Regions from separate parts of the Homo sapiens genome. Here all the other regions are linked to region 4. The links are contacts of gene promoters, found by promoter capture Hi-C in blood cells and fetal thymus (Javierre and others, 2016). All regions are on one chromosome and are shown on one strand. The core of a region is centred on a gene start or on the middle of the fragment in contact, and the rest is flanking DNA. Distances in the headings are between cores, read along the strand shown. Region 1 has its middle 48 kb from the start of IFNG-AS1. Region 2 overlaps CPSF6 (cleavage and polyadenylation specific factor 6). Region 3 overlaps CCT2 (chaperonin containing TCP1 subunit 2). Region 4 holds the start of NUP107 (nucleoporin 107).

The links. The method cuts DNA at HindIII sites, captures the fragments that hold promoters and counts their contacts. A CHiCAGO score of 5 or more calls a contact.
Region 1: a contact is called between a fragment that was not itself captured here and the fragment with the promoter of NUP107 in region 4, in 1 of 17 cell types (activated CD4 T cells). The highest score is 5.1, in activated CD4 T cells.
Region 2: a fragment that was not itself captured here is called in contact with the fragment with the promoter of NUP107 in region 4 in 1 of 17 cell types (monocytes); the score reaches 5.4 in monocytes.
Region 3: a contact is called between a fragment that was not itself captured here and the fragment with the promoter of NUP107 in region 4, in 1 of 17 cell types (monocytes). The highest score is 6.8, in monocytes.

The regions. Positions count from the first base shown.
Region 1 is chr12:68,035,583-68,040,237 of GRCh38, reverse strand. It overlaps the pseudogene HNRNPA1P70. Among named protein-coding and RNA genes, the nearest start is that of IFNG-AS1, 48 kb to the right of the region's middle. The HindIII fragment of the contact is 1,749 bases long and covers 1,296-3,044 here.
Region 2 is chr12:69,252,407-69,257,136 of GRCh38, reverse strand. CPSF6 (cleavage and polyadenylation specific factor 6) reads right to left here. Exons shown (of 10, transcript NM_007007.3): 3 at 3,983-4,086; 4 at 295-440. Among named protein-coding and RNA genes, the nearest start is that of CPSF6, 15 kb to the right of the region's middle. RefSeq lists an enhancer at 3,037-3,086 and a silencer at 4,162-4,362. The HindIII fragment of the contact is 1,296 bases long and covers 1,052-2,347 here.
Region 3 is chr12:69,596,056-69,601,025 of GRCh38, reverse strand. CCT2 (chaperonin containing TCP1 subunit 2) reads right to left here. Exons shown (of 16, transcript NM_006431.3): 11 at 3,751-3,870; 12 at 3,260-3,388; 13 at 2,955-3,058; 14 at 2,605-2,704; 15 at 1,022-1,163. Among named protein-coding and RNA genes, the nearest start is that of LRRC10, 12 kb to the left of the region's middle. The HindIII fragment of the contact is 1,278 bases long and covers 2,551-3,828 here.
Region 4 is chr12:68,683,355-68,688,253 of GRCh38, reverse strand. It overlaps NUP107 (nucleoporin 107), which reads right to left and starts at 1,276. Exons shown (of 28, transcript NM_020401.4): 1 at 1,181-1,276. The coding sequence starts at 1,188. It overlaps LOC100507250 (a long non-coding RNA gene), which reads left to right and starts at 1,395. Exons shown (of 3, transcript NR_038930.1): 1 at 1,395-1,517; 2 at 2,237-2,391. It also overlaps the pseudogene RPL7P42. The HindIII fragment of the contact is 6,312 bases long and covers 1-4,899 here.

The DNA.
Region 1 (4,655 bases), core at 921-3,420, 650 kb after region 4:
GACGGCAGCAGGTGCCTAAATGGCCTCCCCAGGCATGAACAGATTCCCCACCAGTTCTGCTCTCCATGCGGTAACCAGAGTGACCTTTTTAAAAAATTGTGAATGAATAAACTAAAGAATACTTTCTCTCATCACCTCTTCTCTATACAGAAAAAAATATAACCAGTCTTACCAAAAAGTTAGATTAGTCAGCTAAGCAAACAGGGTTCGAATATTCTAGCACCCTGAAACCACAGTCTAAAATGGTCTTCTGATGTGTGGTTATAACACTTAATATACAGTGTTTGTCTCTTAGTAACTTTAGGTTTATCTTATTCAGCATCACATTATTTATCCTGTAAGGAAGTAAGCATATCTTCTCTGTTTCATAAGAAGATACCTTACTGTACAAAATGGTACTGTGGCCTAAAGTCACCCAATAAATATGGTGCAGGTTTGGAGTTGTTACTTAGAGTAGAATGCAACTCCTAAAATCTAAATATTTTTCAAAACCTGGATGAGATGTGCAGTGGAACCCTGTAAACACAATCTTTTTTTTGAGACGGAGTCTCGCTCTTTCGCCCAGGCCGGAGTGCAGTGGCGCTATCTCGGCTCACTGCAAGCTCCGCCTCCCGGGTTCACGCCATTCTCCTGCCTTAGCCTCCGGAGTAGCTGGGACTACAGGCGCCCGCCACCGCGCCCGGCTAATTTTTTATGTTTTTAGTTGATACGGGGTTTCACTGTGTTAGCCAGGATGGTCTCGATCTCCTGACCTCGTGATCTGCCCGCCTCGGCCTTCCAAAGTGCTGGGATTACAGGCAGGAGCCACCGCGCCCAGACAACACAATCTTAAACAGAAGCTTTATATGTAAACCACATAAAAGCTGCGCAAGTTGAATAGGAGGCAATAAATGAGGGAGGTGTGTGCTTGGGCCTCTAGAAAGACATAGGAAGCATATTTGAGAAATCTCTAGGGCTTGGCTTCAAAAACATTATTGTAAAGCATGTGTGCATCTAAGGTAACGGCGCTATAACTTGTAATAAAGATGGGAAGGAGAGAAGCTGCCAATCCCAAACTGATGGTCAATATTTGTGGATTCCAACATTCCCAGTTCCTTTATTTATTTCTGGACTATCTAGTTTTCTATGGCTCATCAAATAAAAATCAATATGCCCATATTTACACAAAGCCACCTTCATGCCCTCTTCCAGGAGGAACCAGAGAACTTGAGACTTCCCAGCTACAATTTCCAACCTTGCTCTTCTGGGTTTTCCATTCCATGTTGAGCACTCAGAGATTTTACTAGGTTTAAGCTTTCTTGCCTGGTGGGTGGGAGTAGGGAGGGGGGTGGAAATGAGGTGACCATTTATTGAGTATTTGCTCTGAGGCAGTGGTGGTGGGGTCGGGGGTTCCTTCCTGCTTATCAGAGCTGTGCACCTGCTCACTTGCCAGATGATATGCAAAAAAGAATCCAAAGAAGCAGCAAGAAAGCCAATACGTTTTCTTAGATCAAAATGACATATCCCAAAGCTCCTCTCTTTCCGATTATTTTTGATGAGAGCAAAATTATTATACTCAACTCCAGTGTGAATCTACATCACAGGGGGAGATTATTTTAGGTGAAAATTCCCTTATGATTAAATAGATGTTTGTGTGCTTATTTTTGTTGTTTTAAGAATCCTCCAGGATAATTCTGATGCAAACAGGCCTAAAGCCAGAAAGACTGACATACAGGTTTATTTGATAAATTGAAGTTTATTAAATACTATGACCATTATTTTCTGCATTAACCTTATAATATTGGTCACTTGTCTTCCTTTCAAGTTTAAAAACATTTTTTTAAACAGGCTTGAAACCTGCGGGGAAAACATATTATTGTGACATATCACATATCACAACATATCACATTGGCCCTGAGGATTAAACTGTTTCCAGATCCATCTGGTCTGACAGACATAAGTGATTGATTCTTGCTTGGTCTGTAACACACCCCAAATGCATTCACCTGCTATGCCATTGCCCCCTCTTCATTTTCTACTATGAGCTTTAAAAAACTGGAGTTATACATCTCATGGCTCTTAAACTAATGCATGGCTTGTTCCTGACTGCCTTCCAGCACTGGAAGAAAAAAGTAATATCTTTGTGACAGCATGATTACTTCCACCTGTGACAGCTCTTCTCCATTGTGAAATCTGCAAAGAAATCATCTGGAAGGGGAAAATACATGTGTTCTGGGATTAAAGACATAACAGGCATGTACTGAATGTGTCAAAAAATTTGAGATGTTGAGGGAGCTGAAGACAAGCCCTCTACATTGTAGATGTAGTACCATAAGGAATTTTCTAAAGAAGTCTTATGAAGCAATTGTTTTCAGTGGTTTACTACATTTATGAATCTTCAGCCCATCAGTGGAAAATATGATGCTCTGAGAGTCAGCCATGAAGCTGGGCTAGAGTGGGGTGCTAGTTTATCTTGAAAGATAGTTCTTTCAAGATGTATAATGCCCTGTTTCTCCCAGCTATTACATTTCACTTCATTTCTCTAGACCACAGGGTTCTAAGACACTTAGTCTAATTTAGAGGCAGTCTTTTGTTAAGACACCACTGAAGCATATAAAGTTCAGCCAGTGGGACCCAATTGGGTAGCTTTATAGAGAGAAGTCCAGATTTAGTTATCAATGTTAATAGGTAGGTCTTTTCATTAATGTCAGCCAACCAATGTACTACAACACATCATATTGTTTTTTAAAGGACACATCTAATTAGCATCATGATCAGACTATTACATTGAGCAGTCAACAGCATGGGTGCAAAGAAAAATTGACATTAAAACCCTTTATAGGCATGGTTTACACTTTCTACAGAACAGAAACTAAAATAAACTGTTGTACAATTGGTCACAACTACAGTCCTTGAGATTTTTGCCCATACACATGAATATTGTCAAAAACATGTCTTCTTTGTAGCAGCTAGGTCCTACCACGACTGTGCTTGGCTGAGTTAAAAAATCTGTTGTAACCTGTAGTTTCCTTGTCATGTTTCCAGCTGTCCTCTCCTGCTAAGCTTTGTCTCGTGACAGTAATTAAAATCTGGCTGGGCACAGTGGCTCATGCCTATAATCCTAGCACTTTGGGAGGCCAAGGCGGGTGGATCACGAGGTCAGGAGTTTGAGATCAGTCTGGCCAACATAGTGAAACCCCATCCCTACTAAAAATACAAAAAATTAGCTGGGTGTGGTGGTGGGCACCAGCTACTAGGGAGGCTGAGGCAGGAGAATTGTGTGAACCCAGGAGGCAGAGGTTGCAGTGAGCCGAGATCACGCCATTGCACTCCAGCCCGGGGGCAACAGTGCGAGACTCCGTCTCCAAACAACAACGACAAAAAAAAAAAAAAACAAAAACAAAAAACAGTAGCTACTGCTGTAGCTACTGTTGCTACTGGAACCACCATAGCCACCTTGGTTTCGTGGTTTGGCAAAGTATTGGCCTCCACCACCATAGGGGTCAGAGCTTCTGCCTTCAAAGTTTCCTGCCTTCATGGGTTCAAAATCTGAAGACTGATTGTTGTACTTGCCAAAATCATTGTATCTTCTACCACTTCTGCAATTGCTTCCACTACCACTGCCAAAGCCCCTTCTGCTTCCGTCGTTATAGCTGTCACAGAAGCCACTGCCCTTGTTTCTACAACCCTCTCCACCACTTCCATAGCCTTGGCTTTCTTCAGAGTAACCAGGGCCACCTCCTCCATAACCAGTGTCATTACCAAATCCATTATAGTCATCCTCACTGCCACCATATCCACTACTATCACAGCTGCCGCCAAAGCCACCATGACCACTGAAGTTTTCTCCATGACCAAAGTTGTCTATCCCACCAAAACTGCCTCCATGACCACCACCAAAGTTTCCAGAACAATTTTGGCTTCTTTGCCTGGATGAAGCACTAGCCACCTCTTGCTTTGACAGGGCTTTCCTAACTTCACAGTTGTGGCCATTCCCAATGTGGTATTTCTGAATGACAGTCTTATCCACGAAGTCATGGCCATCAAAGGTGACAAAAGCAAAGCGCTTTTTCTTGCCACTGCCTTGGTCAGTCATGGTTTCAATCACTTCAATTTTCCCATGCTGTTCAAAATAATCTCTTTGGTGATGTTCTTCAGTGTCTTCTTTAATGCCGCCAACAAATATCTTTTTCACGGCTAAGTGGGCACTTGGTCTCTGAGAATCTTCTCCTGAGATAGCTCTTTGGTTGTACAACTCTTCCATCCCCTTGTGTGGCCATGCATGCATCTGCCTCCTCCACAGTGGCATTTGTGACAATCCCAAAAGCTCTGGAGCACTTGGTGTTTGGATCTCATTGCTACACAGTTTGTGAGCATTTCCCCATTACTCAAAATGGCTCCTCAGGCTCTCAGCGGTTGTTTCAAAGCTCAACCCTCCAATGAGGAGCTTCCACAACCATTTAGGCTCTTTAGGAGACTCCAACTTAGACACGACAGCAGTGGGAAGAGAGACTTTAACAATGCTTCCTCAACAGCGTCCCCTAGCAGAAAGGAGAAAACTAACAAACGTATCTCAACACACCATATTCTAAACTTTGAAAATGGACTCTGTATTCAATTAAGTTTTCTTCCATCTGGTCAGTAGGTTCCTATGCAGCACATGCTTGCCATGTTTG
Region 2 (4,730 bases), core at 450-2,949, 570 kb before region 4:
GTTTCTTTCTGTATCTAAGATGGAAATAATAGGACAAGAATGGCAGGGCTATAGAACTTGCACATTGTTGTATAGTATTGGGTCTGTTACATCTGGAGAAAAATGGAACAGGAGTAGGTTTCTCGTACACAGGCCCACAGTCATAACCAGTGATTAAATCTAATTCAAAGCATGGACTTTGTGAAATGGAGTTCCTAGTGAGCTAGTATTAAGATGACTTCTCTAGTATAACACCTAACAAATGCACTGGTTAAAATGTACATATTTTAATAAAAGCCTCTGAGGACTGCTTACTTTTCCTGGACTGCATTTCAAATTGACTCAGGAACTGTTTATTGCATGGAGTTACAACAGGATTCTGACCATGAAGTTCTCTTTTAGGTAACAGATCCATTAACTTTTTTGAAGATGCTTCAGATCCAACACCAACAAGGGCAAACCTAAAAAGTGTTTAAGGGGTGAGGATACAAAGTAAAAAGAGATCAATATTATTACTGTTATTCTTCTGTAAAAAGGTCTTAATCTGCTTTTATCTAAAACAACAGCTGGGCACAGTGGCTCATGCCTGTAATCCCAGCTGCTTAGAAGGTTGAGGCACGAGGATTGCTTGAGCCCAGGAGTTTGAGGCTACAGTAACCTATAATCACACTACTGCACTCCAGCCTGGGCAACACAGTGAGATCCTGTCTCTAAAAATAAATAATTTTAAAAACTAAAAATATTTCTTAACTATACGAGTACACATTTTTGTTCATCTTGTATAACATACCATAGAATTCAGTCATTCAAAATATATAATTCAGTGGTTTTTAGTATTTCACAGTGTTATAACCACCACCATAATCAATTTTAAAACATTTTCATCACCCCAAAAAGAAACTCCATATCCATTAGCCATCGCTCCCATTCCTTCCCATCCCTGTACCCTATGGAACCACTAAACCTAATTTCTGTCTCTGGACTGGCCTATCCTAGACATTTCATCTAAATGGAATCATACAATAGGAGGTCCCTTGTGACCAGCCTTCTTTAACTAGCATGTTTTCAAGCTTCATCCACTGTTACAGCATGCATCACCACTTACTTTTATGGGTGAATAATTTTCCATTATAAATATACAACATTAAAAGAAATGTATCCATCAGTTCATGGACATTTGGGTTGCTTCCACTTTTTGCTACAATAAAAAGATGTACAATATCATTAACTATTGGGGAAGTGCAAATCAAAACCACAAGATACCACCCCATACCCACTAGGGTGGCTATAATCAAAAAGACAAGTATTAAAGATGTGGAGAGGCCGGGTGCAGTGGCTCACGCCTATAATCTCAGCACTTTGGGAGGCCAAGGCAGGAGGATCATGAGGTCAGGAGTTCAAGACCAGCCTGACCAACATGGTGAAACCCCGTCTCTACTAAAAATTCAAAAATTAGCCAGGCATGGTGGCGTGTGCCTGTAGTCCCACGCTGGGAGGCTGAGACAGGAGAATCGCTTGAACCTGGGAGGCAGAAGTTGCAATGAGCCAAGATTGCGCCACTGCACTCCAGCCTGGGTGACAGAGTGAGACTCTGTCTCAATAAATAAATAAATAAATAAATATGTGGAGAAACTGGAACCATTGCACATTGCTGATGAGCACGTATTAATAAAATGGCACAATGCCTCTGGCAAATAATCTGGTAATTCCTCAAACATTTAAACATAGAGTTACTATATTAACCCAGTAATTCCATTCCTAGGTACACATCCAACAGAACTGAAAATACATGTTCACACAAAATGGGTACACAAATATTCACAGGGGCATTTTCCTTAATAGCCAAAAGTGGAAATAACCTAGACGTCCATCGACTGATAGATTAAAAGAAAAAAGTGCTATATCCATGTAGTGGAATATTACTCAGCCATAAAAAGAAATGCTGATGCATGCTTCAACATGGATGAACCTTAAAATCATTATGCTAAGGAAAAAAGCCAGTCACATAGGACTACGTATTTTATGATTCCATTTAGATGAAATGTCCAGAACAGGCATATCCAGAGCACGTTAGCAGTTGCCAGCAGATAGGAAGAGAGGAAATGGGAGTGACTGCTAACCAGGTACAAGGTTCCTTCTTGGAGTGATGAAATGTTCTGGAATGAGACAGTGGTAATGGTTGCTAAACTTCATAAATATAATAAATTATCATTGAATTGTACATTTAAAAGCCTGCATTTTATGGCATATGAATTATACCTCAAAAAGAAAAACAAATTTAAAATAATCAGAATGATTACCAATTCGTATAGTTACAGGATATTCTAAATTATTTGAGGGAGGGAGGGTCTTAGTAGCTTAAGAAGCTTAAGCTCTTTTCCCCCTAATGTTCAATATGATCTTTTAAATTATCCTTCTTATTTTAGTCAACAAGTTCTGCTGTTTGCACCAGGATTATCTTGGGTCACAACATTTAGAAAAAACTAAATTAATTTAACAAATATTTATTAAGCACCACTTCTTATACGCAAGGTACCATTCTAGAGCTGGAGAAGTAATAGAGAACAAAACAAAATCTCTGTTCTCATTAAGCTTAAAGGCTTGGAAGAGGAGACAACAAACGAGTAAAATATATCAGAGCAGAAATAAAGGAAACAGGATAGGAAGGTGCTACTTTGCACAAGATGGTCATGGAAGAAAACTCTTAAACAGTTTGAGTCCTGAATGAAGTCAAAGAGTAAGCCATGTGGATATTTGAGGGGGAAAAGTAAACCAAGAAGAGAAAACAGCTAAAGGTCCTAGGTAGGAATTGGTCTGGCCAACAGCAAAGAGACTAATGTGGCTGAAAAAGAGTGGTAGGATAGGGTTAGAAAGGTGGTGGGAAAACAGACCAGAAAGTACCTTGTAGACAATGGTAAAGAATGAGACAGACAGGAAACCATGAGAAGATTGAGCAGAATGTCATTTTTTTTTTAGAACTTCTGTTATGTGGAGTACAGACTGTAGGGGGCAGTCTATACTTCCAGTTAGGAAGCTACTGCCAAAGTTTAAGTGAGAGATGATAGTGGCTTTGACCAAGTGGTATAAGTAAAGTTAGTGAGAAGTATTCAGACTCTGCATATATTTTGAAAATATTCTCAGTTTAGTATAAATTGGTATAATCTTCTAAGATAAGTAAGCAATATAAGAAATAAGAAAATTCTTTATCATTGTGCATCTAACAATTTATCCTTAAAAGAAAATCCAAAATCTGTACCAAAAGACTTATATAAAATGATGTCTGCTGCAACATTATTTACAATAGGCAAAAGTGGAAACCACCACGATAACCAAAAATAAGAAAGGTAAATTACAGTAGCATACCAGGTATGATGCAAAAGAATTAGACATTAGAGAGGATGTGTATTTATTTTTATTCCTTATATCAAACATATAAAACACATGAATTATAATTCCATTATTTATTTATTTATTTATTTTTAGGAAAAAGCCCAAAAGAATCTTCACTAAAATGTTAAAAGTAAACATCAATGAATGGTAGGACAGTGGTATTTTATTTTCTTACTTTTAGATATCTGTATTTATAATGTTCTCATGCTGAGGCTATCCCACTTGTATAGTTTAGTAGTGAAATAAAGCAAAATATCCATGTAACACATTATTCAGTTGCCCATCTTCTCCCATCTCTTAATCACAGGGAGAGTAATGGTTCTTAAACTGTCATTTCAACAACCATTTCAACCACAGATAGAGAAAACTTGGGAAAAATAGAAAATAAATCTGTCCACATTTCCACTCTACTGGTTTTAGTGTGTTAGGTAATAGGGTACGTAAAATGAAAAGTATCAATCTTTGCCCAAGAACCTCCTTCCAATGTAAACAATCATGTGTTGTTTGTATACATGTGTATACATGTGTAATTAACATTAACTTAAAGGAAAGTTAACTTGTAAAAACTGTATCACTAGCTACTAAATCAAAAAGAAAGAAAAAAAAAACTTACCCCTTTGACTGGCCATTTGCCCGATTTTCAAAAAATTTTATCTCCAAAATATCATTTACTCCCAAAGAATGAACTGCTTCAGTTAAGTCTTCATCTGTTGTCCACTGCAAGATATTTTCCCCCTCATTAACCATTAAAATAAAACCAAGATTTTTATTATCCCAGTCTAGTTTTTAAGGGGAAATTTGAGACATAAAAGAGAAAATAAATGCTGAGTGCAAATCTAAGTCTAGTTATGGCCAGTCAGACTCCAATTTTTAAACAGCACAAAAACCATCTGGGAACCTAACTTCATTCCCTGATAAGTATTTCAGAAACTAGAAGGTATATACCCTTGGGGTTACAATAAGATTTGACTCTCAAGAGTTTCTGGTCCCTTACAGCTTTAAACTGCTATGATTTTAAATTGTGAATAAAACCAATTTCACTTCCTCCCATTAAAGGAAAGTATTTTGAATTTCATCTTGTTTTTGAATTAAAATGCAGATAAGAAAAAACTAACATGTATTTAATATCTACCATATACTTTATGTATCAACTAACTCTTATAACAACCATATAAGCACTATTATTATACCCATTTTACACATGATACAATAGAAGTTAAAGAGCTTTAACTCTTTAACAAGGTCACAAAACTAATAATAGATGGTGGAGCTAAGATCCAAATACTTACTTAGCAACCATACTTTCATAACTACACTGCTACTGTCTCCAATTTTATAGAATACTCAGACTGGGTGGTGGG
Region 3 (4,970 bases), core at 1,940-4,439, 910 kb before region 4:
ACAGACCTGAGCTAGCCACTCAGCCCCCTCCTCTGTGTGATGCCCTGCACCACATCAGGACTGTTCTGCCTTGGGACTCTGCAGACACCCCCACCAACAAGAAGCACCTTCTATTCTCATCTTTTATTCTTTGATGACCATACAATAAGGGGGCATAGAACAATCTTTTGGAAAGATGGGATAAGGGTACTAGTAAATTTGTACTTAATGCTTGTTCAAGGATCTAAAGCTTGAGAAACACTGCTTTTAGAGGCAAACACAACAGTTACGAGAAGCTGAAGAAGCTTAAGAACAGATCAAAGAGTACAGCATTATACAGGGATCATATAGAGAGATAAACTTTTCACCCTTGGTAGCTTATGGGGGGACTAGGATGCTAACCATTGTCAAGAGTTATGAAGCAGCTGTCACAGGGCACTGATCTGAAAAAAAAAGTCTTCTGGAGATTAATAAGGAATATGAAAAAGAAGCCCATGGTCTGGTAGGTCTGGAAGGCTGAGTTAAAATTCAGTTTCTTTATTGCAAATTACTCAGAATTTGCTAATAAAAGATACCTGATCTCTAAAACAGTATCAGACCAAACAAGGTATTATACATTTTTTAAGCGTTATTTCAACTGTGGGTGAGGGCACTGACTTCTTGTGAAGATTTCTGGGAGTAGGTGTGGCTATATGACCTTGCCCTAGAACACTTTAGTTACAGAACTCAGTTTCCTTTTGCTATCATTCTGTTTAAAGACAATAGAAAGCATCACAGCATCTACTGTCCTCAGTACTTGACCTTTCCAAGCATGGCTCTTTCTGTGCCTTTTCAATCCTAAGAGCTACCTCAGCTGCCCATCCCTCTTTCCCCTTAAGTTTTTCTGGCTTAAGTGTTAAGAGTTGTGATATTTTAAATAACTTACATACTTTTATCCAGGCAAAACTGTCTCTGCTTTTCATTAACTCTAATTATAAAATAAATACAGCTCCCTATTTTGTTTTGCTGTTAGTAATTTTTTCTGAGAAAAGTGTTAGGGTACCTGGGTGCCGCTTTGATGATGTTGTCCACACGCAGAATCACCTCTGCTGCTTCAGCTGCACTCAGAAGAACCTGTCGCTTCACTTGAAAACTTTCTGTTATACCCAGGATAGCCATATCTCCAATGGTGCCTTCCCTCATATCTGCAAAGAAAAACAAATTTACTAAAAAGCAGTTTTAACTAAAGTATCAAAACATCTCTAATGATTTATAATAAAAATTAATCCTATTAATAAAATTAGGACACCCAACTACTTTACTCAGTAGGTAGATAAGCCTACAAATGAGCTCAAAGAAAGCCTTTAAAAAAATTAAAAGGGGCCGGGTGCAGCGGCTCACATCTGTACTCCCAGCACTTTGGGAGGCTGAGGCAGGTAGATCACCTAAGGTCAGGAGTTGGAGACCAGCCTGGCAAACATGGTGAAACCCCGTCTACTAAAAATATAAAAAATTAGCCGGGCATGGTGGTGGGCACCTGTAATCCCAGCTACTCAGGAGGCTGAGGCAGGATAATCACTTGAACCCAGGAGGCAGAGGTGGCAGTGAGCTGAGATCATGCCTCTGCACTCCAGCCTGAGTAACAACAGTGAAACTCTATCTCAAAAAATAAATAAATAAAATAAAAGGGGCCAGGATCAGTGGCTCACACCTATAATCCTAGCACTTTGGGAGGCTGAGGCAGGAGGATTGCTTGAGGCCAGCCTGAACAACATAGTGAGACTGCCCCCCCATCTCTAAGAAAATAAAAATAATTTAGTCAGGCATTGTGGCACATGCCTTTAGCCCTAACTACTTGGAAGGCTGAGGAAGGAGAACTGCTTGAGCCAGGGGTTCAAGGCTGCAGTGAATTATCATGGTGCCACTGCACTCCAGCCTGGGGAACAGAGCAAGACCATTGTGTCAGTTATAATAATAGTAATAACAACAATAATGTCAACTACTGATCACCCATATTAATAGAAGACAACATATCAAATAATAAAAAACAAATGGAAGAAAATTCATAAGTTACCTACCCAACTTCTCTTCTTGTGAGAATCCTGCTTCATTTTCTCACAGATTAACTGGTGCTCCCTCTTGTTCAATGACAGGATTATCTACCTTCTTAAGACTACTCTATAATGTCCAGCACAGCTTGTCAGAAAGTTTTTCAATATGAATTAAATCTGCCTCATTGGCCACTTTTATCTATGGACTAGAGATCTGTGATCTGTACTCAAGATTATCTTGCAGTAAGTTTACTATGAAATTAGAAGTTAATACTGATTGTATAAACAACATAATAGTTTATGTTATTTTTCAGAATGTAAGTATTGTTTATATTTAAATCCTATAGTCGTTATATACCAAATAGTTACAAATCTTCTAACCAGTTTTACATGTCTTATGGAATAACAAAGTTTGGGAAATGCTGAGCATATAAAGTCACACACATTTTCCCAGCACATGTAATGATTATGAGGACAAAGTCCAAAAGAGTCTTTTATACGGTTATTGTAACTCTTTATGTTCCAAAAGAAAAAAAAAGCTTAGTGAAAAGAGTTACTTTTAACAACGGCCACAAAGTTCCCCTTGATTGCTTACCCAATCCAGCAGTGGTATTGCCTTCACTGTGAGCAGCCCTGAGCTGTGCCACCAGGTCTGCACTGTCATAGCCTGCATTGTCAGCTATGATGGTTGGCAACTATGAAAATGAAGAAAACAAGTAACTACTCACTCTACTGTAAGAACCACTGATTTACTCCTAACTAGGATAGCTTTTTAAAATTATACATTTAGGAACAATGTAAAATCTGCTTCAGTTACTGCTCACGAAGAGGAGAAACTCCAGAATCAAATTTAAAAGCAGTATTAACCAGTTCATTTTCTACTCATTTTAAAACTATCAATAACCACAAAACTTAAGTTCGGATCTCTCATTTTGATTAACTTACCATTCTCAGTGCTTTAGCATAAGACTCCATTGCAACAGCTTCTTTGCCTGGTGTTCTATTGGCAAGCTGTGTCACAGCATGAGCCATCAACATCTCAGAACAGCCTAAAGATTAAAATTCCAATAAAATATTGCAATGCTTAGTTGTCTCCAAGATACTGAATTACTGACTTTAAGATATGCCAAGCATTTTAAAATTTAGTGCAAAAGCAATATAAGATTTCTGTAAGAACCATTAAAACCACTTATGACTTATATTGTACTTTAAGAAATTAAAAATATATTCAACATTTTCTAAATGCTTACCTCCTCCATAAACTGTTCTAGAGTCCTTTACAGTTTGCGCAAGAACACAAAGAGCATCATGCAATGATCTTTCTGCTTCATCTAAAATTTGTTGAGTGGCACCACGCAAAACAATGGTACAAGCCTCACCTAAAATTAAAAGACACAGTGACCACTTAGGGATAAAAAGTTTGCCTTCTATTATTTATGCCGGTGTTGGTTATATTACTGGGTTCTGAAAGCTGACCTGTCTTCCTGTATTATACATTCTCCAACAATCAAGGCTCATAATGGTTCTAAGTTATCAAGGAAAAAAAACTGTTGAACATGCACTGTTCACAAAGACACGGTAAATATGAGGTTGACTCAAGAGACTGAAACAAAGTATGTATCATGCTTCTGAAGAGTTAAGACTTGTAAGATATGCTATTCTAGTAACTACAATAACCTTTACTTCAACAGAGCCTAGCAAGAATTTAGACACCCTAACCAGGATCTACATAATCACTCACCAAGGGCAACCCCAGAAAAGTGAATGAGTTTGTCTTCTCCAATCATGACTTCCTCGATAAGTTTGCAACTTCCAAGCTTCACCAGTTCTGGGTGATCAAAGGTAGAGGCAATTTCACCACCTATAAACATAAACATGTATTAGTTAAATGCACAGCAGGCTTAAAATTCCTGTTTTCTAATAAGCAGTAATGGATAGATAATGATAGGTAATGTGTTTCACATTTTAAAAATTGATTGCTGATTATATTCCTGGCACTCTTTTTAAATACTTCATATCGACTAATTATTTAATCTTTAAAATAATCCTCTTGGATAGGCTCCATTATTATCCCATTTTACACATGATAAAAATGAGGCCAAGAGGTTTACCTTCCTATCCAAAGACCTAACTAGGATGAATATAAAAAGCTGGGGTTCAAACTCAAGCAGTCTGGCTTCAGACCTATAAGCACACACTATACAATACTACCTTCCCAAGGTTAAACTGAGTCTTAAAGCAGTTACTTTTGAGTTTAAATTCAGATTCTCTTCTGAATCCAACCTATAAGACTAAGACCTCATGATACAATTCCCAGCACAAGACATGAAAATATTTGTCCTATAAGTCAACCACTATACACTTCATGAACTGCTTAATAAGCACCTGATATCTCTAATTATCACAAATGAAATGTCCTAAGGCCTAAAAAAACAAGAAATGCATACTAAGAATTTCCCAGACCAAATTTAATAAGAACAAATTAATTTAGTCCTTATGTCTCATTTCTATTCCTATTTTCCCTCCATCTTCCATGCTGTAAACTGAACAGGTCAGCCACTTCGTTCCCTATTTCCTAACTAAGCAAAAGTCAGGTTTCCATTTCAAAATCCTTTTCTCTAGCTGACTACTCCTTTCATAATGTGAATTGCATATATTATCAATCAACCCTTCTTTTCCTATGCCTTACTGATAAATCTGTCAATGCTCTATTATTTATTTTATAATAAATTCATAAAGACTCTGGTCTTTGAAACTACTAATTTATACTCATAATTTGTATAAAGTTCTTTTTACTTTTGGCTGGCAAAATTCTGAGACTGCTTTGTGTTCTAGATGTGAGACACAACAGATATTTGGGACGTCATATCCAAAAATAAGACTAACTTGGCTTATGAAACTTTTCACTTCATCCTTCTACATGAGACTTTTCTTTCTTTTTAAAGAGAGAGTGTCTTGCTA
Region 4 (4,899 bases), core at 27-2,526:
ATGGGAAACAACCACATAGAAACAATTTTAAACGTTTAACAATTAAAATTAAAAACAAAAAAAAAAACCTTCAGATAGCTCTCTGGTCTATAGAAGTAAAAATTTCCTAAAATGATATTTACAATGTGACCCCAGTTTAGGGGTTCAGTCTTCTATTCAGCCACAAACATCACTTTAAACGTATACTGCATGTGACCACTGAGCTACACGTACTTTTTTTTCATATCCTAGCACCTCTGAATATGCTTCTTTTACAAAGACCTACATTTGCCCCCTTGAGCACCTGGTCAACAACTACTTACTCCTCAAAGAGCCTCAGGTAGGCTGGAGACACACAGATGCAGGTTGGCAATTTGGTTCTTGTATTTATTAGCTTCCGAACTTTCAGCAAGTTCCTTAACCTCTTTTAGTCTCAGTGTTATATATGAAAAAAGGATAACAGTACCCATCTCATAGGATTTTTCTTGTTCTGAAGATTAAATAAGCTAATAATATATATTCAACGCCTTTAGAACAATGGCAGTCACATAGTAGGTACTCAATGTTTGGAGTACGAATAATGTACTCTTATTATTCAAAGACCAGCTAGAAAGTTACCTTCTTTGAGGGGTCTTCCTGATAGTTACAGTGACAAGGAGACTTAATCGCCCCCAAACACTTACCACTTTACACTGCTTGGTTGTCTCCATTACACAACTAATTCCCCGAGGGGAAGGATCTTGAATAACTGATCTTTGTTGTAGGCGGCTAGCACAGTACCCAGATCATAGAGGGAACTCAGAATCTGATGCTGGCACTTGTAATCAGAAAGTCTGGGCTGAGATCCCAGTATCTTCACTGACTGGCTTTGTGATCTCAGGCTGGTCACTTAGCATTTCGAACGCCGCGCTACCTACCCCGCCCACCCCAGGAGCGAACAGTGTTGCTGCCCCAAAGCGCCGAATAGATCGCAGAACGTAGTGGGAAAGTAAGGGACTATTATGATCTGTACCCCACCCCGACGCACGCCAAGCGGCTTTTTCCCCATTTGTGGCCAAATTTCCCGGCATGGGGAAGGAGCCTTAGGGGAAGCACCCGGGACCTCCTTGGCTTCTTCTGGGAGTCTAGTTTCACCTATTTCGTTTCGCCAACAGGCGAGACGGGCAAGACTTCGGGCTCAGCTGCCACCATCAGTACTGACCTGTCCATGGCTAAAGCCTTTTCCACACACAACCAAAGTTGGCTGCAGTTTAGCTACCGCGTTTTAGCCTTCCCGCTCTCCGGAAGCAAGCCCTTCGACCCGGAAGCAGTCTGTCCCTAAAACAGACCCACAGAAAAGGGGTAGGGGAGAAGAAACAACGTTCCCATCTAGCGCATGCGCGACTTCAGCCTACAGGTGCACGCCCGGTGGGCGCAGGCGCAAAAGTTTGCCAATGTGTTCCTGGTTGCGTTTAGCCCAGACGCCCTGCGGCCGCTTTGCCTGACCAAAGTCTGTGGGCGTGGAACAGGCCCTGGGTTCTCCTACTGGGAAGAATGAAGTATGTTGATAGTCTGGAAAAATGTGAAGTCATTTCCTGGTATTCTCTGTCAGAAAGCGCCTGTTCTTGGAATTCAGATGCGTGGGCTCTGCCCCACACCTCGGGGATCTCTATCTCTCTGCCTACACTCAGTCCTTTGTTCTGTAGCCCCCTGCAGTTTTTGCAACTATTTTCCATAACTGCTATTTGTTCTTTACTTGGTGTTCTTTCCTATTAAGGAGAAAAAGTTCACCTGTATTAAAAAGTAGAAAGGCAAGCGTGAAATATGATGGTATTGCCCTCTATTTCAAAGTGCCGTCTAGGCAAAAAGTGGTGTATTTTGGTCTTGAAGGAGTCAGTCACATTTTTGTTTTGGTTTTTGTTTTTTCCAGTTTGAAAGTAGTGACTGGCTATTAACTGACCAGATTACAAAAATAATGTTAGATGCTTCAGTTTATCCGTTTAATAAGCCTGTTGATATAGTCTTTTCTGTTGCTGGCATTTATACCTTTTATTAATACAAAATAGGTAGTCCTTCATTCTCCCTCGTGGAGAAGATAATTTGAAGGATCACAGGAACTTGAGTTTTTCAACAGCATAGATCTCATGAATCAGATTCTCCAGTCAGATGATGCCATATTTATCAGGAAATCTAGCAATCAAAGCGTTATCTGTTAAGGTAATTTGTTTATTGATTTTGCCATAACCAATTTGTAGATCAGTTCATTTACTGATTTCAGGTTCAGGTACTCCATGTGATATATGGTTCCACAATCCTCAGCGTGTTAACTGAAGCCTTGTTGAGTTTAACAAAGCTGCCATTGAAGATCTGGGGAAAGTGAAGAAGTTGCAACAGAGTTTTGGGCTCACACCATTGATACATTTGATCCTTAAGGCAAGTGACAATTTGGGTTTCACAGGTATATAGAAATTGCCAGCTTTTCTTGCCATATATTTCTTGTGACAGTGCTGAGCTTTTTTTTTTTACTTCTTGCTTGCTTTTTTTTGGACTTGATTTTTTAAATTATGTTTCCTTCCTTCCTTCTTTCTTTGTTTTTTTTTTTTTTGAGACAGGATCTTGTCCTATTGTCCCGGCTTACGTGCAGTGGCACAGTCACGGCTCACTGCAGCCTTGACCTCCTGGGCTCCAGCAATCCTCCTACCTCAGCCTCCCTAGTACCTGAGGTTGCTGGGACCACAGGCACGCACCACCATGCCTGACCTCCTCTCCTCCCCCGTTTTTTAAAAATATTTTGGAGAAATGGGGTCTTATGTTGTTGCCCAGGCTGGTCTCAAACTCTTGGGCTCAAGCCATCCTCTTACCTGGGTCTCCCAAAGTGCTGGGATTACAGGGGTTAGCCACCACATCTGACAGTGCCTAGCTTTTTCATAGATGTAGCTTTCTCCTTGCTTTTCTTTTTCTTTTTTTTCGAGATGGAGTCTCATTCCATTGCCCAGGCTGGAGTGCAGTGGTGCCATCTCGGCTCACTGCAACCTCTGCCTCCTGGGTTCAAGCGATTCTCCTGCCTCAGCCTCCTGAGTAGCTGGGATTACAGGTGTCTGCCACCACACCCGGCTAATTTTTGCGTTTTTGGTAGAGATGGGGTTTCACCATGTTGTCCAGGCTGGTCTTGAACTCCTGACCTCAGGTGATTCACCTGCCTCAGCCTCCCAAAGTGCTGGGATTACAGGCGTGAGCCACTGCGCCTGGCCTTCTCCTTTCTTTTCAAAGCATTTTATGGGCAAACTTCTTTCTCAGGCACTTGACCTTTAGCTCTGTGAAATTCCTTCATGTGTTTTATTTTTATTTTTTGAGACAGAGTCTTGCCCTTTTGCCCAGGCTGGAGTGCAGTGATGCAATCTTGGCTCACTGAAACCTCTGCCTCCCCGGTTCAAGCGATTCTTGTACATCAGCCTCCCAAGTAGCTGGGATTACAGGCGTGCACCACCATGCCCAGCTAATTTTTGTATTTTTAGTAGAGGCGGGGTTTCACCATGCTGGCCAGGCTGGTCTCGAACTCCTGACCTCATGATCCACCCGCCTCGGCCTCCCAAAGTGCTGGGATTACAGGCATGAACCACAGTGCCCAGCCTTCCCTCACATTTTTAAAGGGTTTCTGGCACAGCAGGAATCTTCTTTTTCTTGTCTTCAATACCCTCCATGGTTTCAGCTGGGAAAGAGGAAATCAGTGGAAGTTTTGCCTTAGGCATTTATGTTCTGCTGTAATTCTGGGAAGCATAGTTCCCCGGAAGGCCTCTTCATACCTTATTATCCCCTCTCAGACAACATGGCATTTTGATAAAAACATTGCTTTGGGCTCCATCTAGGTTCAACCCCCCTGCACCTGCAGATTCCTCATCTGTAGAGTGGAGAAAACAATACCTTTGTCAGGGGGTGTTGTGAGGATTAAACAAGATGTCATAGGGAGTCCCTGTCTCTAACATAAGTTTTAAAAATTAGCCACGTGTGGTGACACGTGCCTGTGGTCCCAGCTACTTGGGAGGCTGAGGCAGGAGGATCACTTGATCCTGGCAGGCCGAGGCTGCAATGAGCTATGATCATGCCACTGCACTCCAGCCTGGATGAAAAAGTGAGACTTTGTCTCAAAAAAACAAAACAGACAAACAAAAAAAACAGAGACATCAACTGTATACACTGTACATAGCAGGTCATTGAAATGTTACTTTTCTCCTTTAATAACCTTTCTGAAGAATAATGCCCTGGCATGGTCTCATTCTCCCACCTCCTAATTTTCCTGTATACAAGTTCACTTTTTCTTATGGAAAGTGAAATGTAGTCCTAATCAGAGCTGGGGCAAGTTTATTCAAAGTATGATCTGTGGTTCATGTTCTTGCTCTGTGTCCCTCAGCAGTTGAATTCCAATGAGTTTTATTCGTGTAGTATACTTGAAGTGTACTTGAGGTGATTGACCATGAAGCACACAATAAAAATTAGCCCTGTGTTTGGGGCAAAAAAATTAGCCCTGTGTTCAGTTCATATGCAAAGATGGAAAACTTTTTGGAAAGTGCACTGGGTTTCACTTTTGACACATTTAATTAGTAGGCATGAACACCATAGCAACCCTGCCAAAATTTCAAAACATATTCATTTCATTACCTTAAAAGGATGTGGAATAAATTTCTTATGTGGTGTATATTGTATACATGGTAGCTTTATGTTTAGTATTCTTGGTTGCAATGACAGAAATTGACTATGGTTAACTTAAACAAAAGGGAATTTACTGGAAGCACATCAGGAGATCTTGGAATTGTTAAGAAACTGGAGAAAAGGTCTGGGATAGCACAGCTCCTCAGGAGCTGAAGGCCAGGAAGCGTCTTTCCCAAAGACACTCAAACTCCAACTGTTTGCTCCAGAGCATCCTTCACCTCCCTTATCCCCAAC